Regions from separate parts of the Homo sapiens genome. Here region 2 is linked to region 1. Evidence: promoter capture Hi-C in human tissues and cell types (Jung and others, 2019). All regions are on one chromosome and are shown on one strand. Each heading gives the region's core, a stretch centred on a gene start or on the middle of the fragment in contact. The rest is flanking DNA. Distances are from core to core; before and after follow the strand shown. Region 1 holds the start of DGCR8 (DGCR8 microprocessor complex subunit). Region 2 overlaps TXNRD2 (thioredoxin reductase 2).

The links. The method cuts DNA at HindIII sites, captures the fragments that hold promoters and counts their contacts. A contact is called where the count stands out against the background at its distance.
Region 2: a contact is called between a fragment that was not itself captured here and the fragment with the promoter of DGCR8 in region 1, in 1 of the 25 tissues and cell types used here (dorsolateral prefrontal cortex).

Annotation. Positions count from the first base shown.
Region 1 is chr22:20,078,511-20,081,682 of GRCh38, forward strand. It overlaps DGCR8 (DGCR8 microprocessor complex subunit), which reads left to right and starts at 1,731. Exons shown (of 14, transcript NM_022720.7): 1 at 1,731-1,873. RefSeq lists a silencer at 1,610-2,229 and an enhancer at 2,490-2,549. The HindIII fragment of the contact is 8,782 bases long and covers 1-3,172 here.
Region 2 is chr22:19,936,012-19,939,183 of GRCh38, forward strand. All of the region lies in intron 1 of TXNRD2 (thioredoxin reductase 2), which reads right to left. It overlaps LOC124905081 (endogenous retrovirus group K member 24 Gag polyprotein-like), which reads left to right. Exons shown (of 2, transcript XM_047441689.1): 2 at 1-1,978. The coding sequence starts at 850. The coding sequence ends at 1,815. Among named protein-coding and RNA genes, the nearest start is that of COMT, 4.2 kb to the right of the region's middle. The HindIII fragment of the contact is 4,369 bases long and covers 1-3,172 here.

The DNA.
Region 1 (3,172 bases), core at 481-2,980:
TTTATAGTAGAGACAGGGTTTCACCATGTTGGTCAGGCTGGTCTCGAACTCCTAACCTCAAGTGATCCGCCCGCCTCGGCCTCCCAAAGTGCTGGGATTACACGCATGAGCCACTGTGCCTGGCCTTGCTCACTATTTTTTCTGGAGACGGTCTCGTTCTGTCACCCAGGTTGGAGTGCAGTGGCCCGATCTCAGATCATTGCAACCTCCACCTCCCGGGTTCAAGCGATTCTCCTGCCTCAGCCTCCCGAGTAGCTGGGATTACAGGTGCCTGCTACCACGCCTGGCTACTTTTTGTATTTTCAGTAGAGATAAGGTTTCGCCACGTTGCCCAAGCTGGTGTGGAACTCTTGAGCTCAGGTGATCCGCCTGCTTCGGCCTCCCAAAGTACTGGGGTTACAGGCGTGAGCCACAGGGCCCGGCCCACTATTTTTATCACTCAAGATTTTCGTCTACAGCAGCTATTATTGGGGTGGCTACCCAGTGGAAAATTTTTCTATTTCCACTATTCCTTCCACATTTATTGACAGGAAAGCTAGTCTAAGGAAGAGCTGTACCCTCACTTACTCAGACCCTCGTTTTCCTTTTTTTTTTTTTTTTTTTTGAGACGGAGTCTCACTCTGCCGCCCAGGCTAGAGTGAAAGTGGTGCTATCTCGGATCACTGCAGCCTGGAACTCCTGGACTCAGGTGATCCTTCCACCTCAGCCTCCCGAGTAGCTCGGACCACAGGCGCCCGCCACCACGCGGCTAATTAAAAATAATTTTGGGCCCGGCGCGGTGGCTCATGCCTGTAATCCCAGCACTTTGGGAGGCCGAGGCGGGCAGATCAATTGAGGCCAGGAGTTTGATACCAGCCTGGCCAACATGGTGAAACCCCGTCTCTACCAAAAATATAAAAATTAGCCGGGCGTGGTGGTGGGCGCCTGTAATCCCAGTTACTCGGGTGGGTGAGCCAGGAGAATCGCTTGAATCCGGGAGGCAAAGGTTGCAGTGAGCTGAGATCGCGCCACTGCACCCCAGCCTGGGAGACAAAGCGAGACACCGCCTCAAAAAAAAAAAAAAAAAGAAAGAAAATTTGTAGATACTGGGCTCTCACTATGTTAGCCAGGCTGGTCTCGAACTCCTGGGCTCAAGTAATCCTCCTGACTCGACCTCCCAAAACTCTGGGATTACAGGCGCAAGCCACCGTGCCCGGCCGAACCACCGTGCCCGGCCGAACCCTCCCTGTTTTGGAAATCCTGTATTAGCAAAGGGGACAGCGCCAGACAGTTGAGCACACGCGTTCTTTATAAATGATGATGTCTGATACAGTGATGCTTTTAACAGGGTTGTGTAACGCCTGTGTGTGCACGGTCTCTTCTGCAGTGTCCACCGAAGGTGGCCCGTCTGCGTGTCCGCTCCCGGCGTACTCCGCGCTCCCTGTTCCCGGCATTCCCCGCGCTCCCCGAGCTTCCCGCGCTCCCCTGCTCCCGGCATTCCCGGTGCTTCCCGTTCCCGGCGCTCCTCGCGGCCGCCGCCCTCAGTCCAGCGAGCCCCGCCTGGGCAGCGACTGTTAGCGCGACCGCGGCCTGGGCGCCTGGTCCCTCCCGCGCGGCCGCGCTATTGGGCCGCGCGCGGCGGACACACGCGCTACGCGCCGCCGATTGGCGGCCTCCGCAGCGCGCTCTGCGGCTCCCCCAATGCGGGGCGGCCGCGCGCGGGGATTGGCCGCACGCCGCGAAGGCCCGCCCTCCGCTCGCCCGGCGCGGCAGGCGGGTGCCGGCGACCGGAGAGCCTGGACAGGCTTTCCAGATGGCTGCGGCGGTCGGTCGGTGAGGCTTTCCCGGCTGTGGTTTGGCTGCGGGCGGCTTGGGCAGCCCGCGGGCGCCTCAGGTAGGTGCGGGGCGCGAGGGGCGCCCGCGGGCGGTTGGGCGGGCGCCGCGGCCTGCGCGAGGGCGCGCCCTTCCCTCCCGCCTCCCTCCGGGACCGAGGCCGCGGGCGGGGCGGGGGCGCGGAGCCCGGCCTTTGTGAGGCAACATGGCCGCGGGCGGTGGAGAGCGCGGGGTGGGGACGCCTCCGGGGCTGGGGGGCGGGCCCCGGGCCCAGGCGTTGCCGACTCTCGTCGCTGTCCGCCCGGGTAAAGAGGCTCCTCTCCCGGAGGGCCCGAAGCCTAGCATCGCCTTCAGGCGGGAAAGGTGTGGACAGGGCCAGTGCTCGCCTGGGACCCTGCCGGCTTTAACACAGTTTGGGAAATCCAAGAAGTCGCCTAAGTCTTTTTGTCCACAGAATGCTCACGGGTTGAGTGTCACGTAGATAATTGGGATACGGTTTTATTGTAACAATGAGCATGGCGGAAATAAATGGAAGGTGGCAACCTGTTGACAGTGATGCCTGTCTGGTGTCAACCGATGGACTTGGGTTTCTTGTGGCAGGAGTCTGATTTGCCTTTTTGCATGCTTGCATGTACCTTGTTCCTGCACGGCAGTCCTGTCTTTGGCTGTCGACTGTTCGAGGCCAACCACCAGGCGAGGATCCACTGTTTCCTGGCCAGACTAGACTCCCAGCTGTGGGAGTGGCCCAAACCCTGCTGCAGGCCTTCACTCACAAAAGGGAGTGAATGGCCAGCCCGGGGTACCCAGTGTTGCCTCTAAGTGCGGGATATGAGGCCTGTTGGAGGATGACAAAAGGAACGGATGAGGTCATACTGCCGCTGGGTTGGGCGGGAGGCTGCAGCGGGAGAGACTTGACCAAAAGGCAGCCTCCATGGCGCTGGCACTGGTGCTGGCCCGTCACAGCCAGTGCCTCTGTTAGCCAACACAGCAAGTGGGCTAGGAGGAAGGGTGCTGTCCAAGTGTACGGGTTTTCTCCCCGTGCCAAGGGTCCAGGGGAGCTTGCCGTGAGCCCGTTCCTGTCCGATAGTCCTGTTGGCAAGGCAGGGTTTGCATGCGGTGTTTGGTCAGCTGGAGCAGTGGGGAGGCCTACGGGCAGAGAGCTCCCCTTTGAGCCCTTTGCGGCCAGGCGCTGTGTGGAGCACTTCCCAGGGGTTGTTTTGTAGTCTCACCGTGACCTTGGGGTAGGAAATGTGCTTCTGGCTGGCTTGCCCAGTCTTAGACTCTCTTGTTGTAGCCCTCTCCTTTGTGATGTCACCCAGCCTCCTGACTTTAATGCCAGCTTTCCTTGACATCTTCACAG
Region 2 (3,172 bases), core at 297-2,796, 140 kb before region 1:
GGAAAATATGGTCACCCTATTCAGGGCAGTGGAAGAACACTGTCCTTGGTTTCCTGAAAAGGGAACGTTAGATGTGGAACTATGGGATCATGTTGGTGCAAAATTCCGAGAACTGGTCCCAACAGGAAATTATGTTCCTGTCACTGTTTGGGGTGATTGGGCCTTGGTACGTGCCATCCTAATGACATACCAATCCCGTGACACCCTGCAGTTACCACAGTTTTCTGAATCTGGCCACCCTCTACCTCTTCCTCAGCTTTCCTCTCCCACTCGGCCTTCATTATCTGCTCAGCCCCTCCCTTTGCCTACTCCTCCCCCACCTGACGATACTGAGGATTCAATATCTAACTCCAGTGACTTTGGCTTAACATCACCCCCTGATGATCTTATTTCTTTTCACGAAGAGCCGACACTTGTAGCTCCTGCGGCCCCAACTCAGACAGCCCAGGACCATATCTATGCTAACTCTTCCCTCTCCAAACCTTTACAGTCTTTGCCTCCGGAGCCATCCAAACTACAATTTACCTGTAATTCTGCAGGCCCTCCCCCATCCACCACAGCCCCTCACCCTCCTATCATTTTGGTCCCTCAACCGGTCACTTTGCCATCCACTCAACCTGCTTCTCTGTACCCTTCTTCATGCAGGGACACCCCTGCCACTCTGGTTGTGCAGGACTGGGCCAGTAATCACCAGTATGCTTCTGCCTCTTCTGCTCCCCCAATGCCCCTTTCTCACACTCTTATACCAGTCCGACCCCGTCAATCTCAGTTTCTCTTATCTATACATACTTTTCCTGTCACTTCTATGCCGACTCTATCTCATGTGCCTGCTCTTGAAACTTTCATGCAATGCTTATTACGCCAAAACAAACAAGTAGATTAGAGGCGTGGGCTTATTCGGTCATGCTGGAACCTCCTAATGCTCAAGGGGTACAAGTGTGTCGATATACGCCGCTCAATCTTACCTTTTTAAAAGAATTCAAGGATGCTTGTACTCAGTATGTTCCTACTTCTCCATATGTTAAAACGGTATTACAGACTCTTTGTACCGAGGTCATTTTGCTTCCTATAGACTGCGACCTTTTGGCAAAAGCTGTTCTAACTCCATCTCAGCATTTACAATTCCATACCTGGTGGTCAGAGGAGGCCCGCCTGCAGGCTCAGCTAAATCGGGCTGATGGCATTCCAATTACTCAGGCTCAGCTCACAGGCTCCGATAATTACTCTGATACTACTGCTCATTTAGGCTTTGATGCTCTCACCACGGAACAAGTAACAAAGGTGTGTATGAGAGCTTGGGATAAATTACGCACCCCAGGCCAAGCTTCTGTTTCTTTTACTATTGTTAAACAGGGTCACAATGAATTATATCTTGATTTTTTAGCTAAATTACAAGATGCTGTTGAAAAATCTGTCTCTGATGAGCACACTCAAGGTATTCTTCTTCATATGTTAGCTTTTCAAAATGCGAACCATGAGTGTAAAATGGCCGTGCATTCCATCCTACGTCAAAATTTACCTGATCATGAGGTGTTGCCTGCATATATTAAAGCTTGTGAAGGCGTTGGATCGGAGACCCACAGAGCTATTCTGTGGGCACCGGCCATGAAGCACGGCAACCAAACTGGCTCGACTGATTCTTTTCTTGGAGCCTGCTATAATTGTGGCCAACTTGGTCATACCCAAAAAAACTACACTGTTAAAAACTTAAAAGCGGCCAAGCCGGCTCAACAAACACGGCCAAATGCTCCTGCTACTGTTTGCCTGCGTTGTCGTAAGGGTAAACATTGGGCAAGTACTTGCCACTCAGTCTGATATAGATGAAAATCCCTTGCCACAGAACCAGGGAAACAGGAAGCAAGGCCAGTCCCAGGCCCCAATATCAAATGGGACACCTCGGACTCAGACCAATGTTGTGTTTTTGCGTCAAGCAGTCCCAACGCAGCCCCCAGCACAAACAAATTTACCTACAGCCAATCCAGATGGGTCCCAGCCTCTTCTTCTGTCTCAGTACAATGCTTGTCTACCTCCACAGTAGGCAGCAGGGCGGTCGATCTCTGTAGTACCATTCCTCTAAATTTACTACCTAATTCTTTGCCTTTAATTGTCCCCATGGGGGTCACTGGCCCTTTACCTCAAGGTTCGGTGGGCCTGGTGTTAGGCAGGGCATCCACCTCATGATACTAAAGGTATCATAGTTCATACTAGTCTCATTAATTCTGATTCCTCTGATGAGATTAAACTTATGTAAACTTATGGTGTCTGCCAAAGTTCCTGTTTCCATTCCGGCCAGTGAGTCAATTGCTCAATTACTTTTACTACCTAACATTGTTTTAAACAAAGGAGATAAGACATGGGGCCCTGGGATGGGCTCCAGCGGTGAAAAAGCCGCTTATTGGATTAATGTAATTTCTAAACAATGGCCTACCTGCACCATACACATTCAAGGAAAAAAGGTTGAGGGCCTAGTTGATACTGGGGCTGATGTTTCTATTATTTCCTCTAATTTATGGCCTTCCTCCTGGCTTAAACATCCCACTAACATGAAACTAGAAGGTGTTAGAAAAGCTGAAGAAGTTCACCAGAGCACATTTATCTTGGCTTGCACTGGCCCTGATGGTCAAAAGGGAACAATTCAGCCTTATATCATGCCCATCCCCATTAATCTTCGGGGCAGAGATTTGCTGGCACAAATTGGGGCTGAAATTAATATTCCACATAACTTTTACAGTGCTCCCAGTCAACATATAATGGAAAACATGGGGTTTGTTTCCAGACTCGGTCTCGGTCCAAAACGTGAAAAAATTACTAAACCTCTTCAAGTTACTGTAAAAGAAGACAAGGCTGGTTTAAAAGCATAATTTAACTACTCCCCACTCCCAATTATATTTAGCATTGTTTAAGCTTTCTAAATGTTCCTAAAAACAATACTCTGACTGCAGCTAAATGCCATTATACAGGCAAAAAATTCTCCCTAAACGAAGGCAAGCCAGTGTCATGGAAAAACTCCCAAACCAATACCTGGGAACCTGGAACAATTATAACGTGGGGAAGAGGGTATGCTTGTGTTTTACCAGGAGATCGTCAATCCCGTCTGGGTGCCCACTAGGAGACTTAAACTTCGTGTGAATACTGACAATAAAAACCACGAGGAAGAGACGTTCGCGTCAGA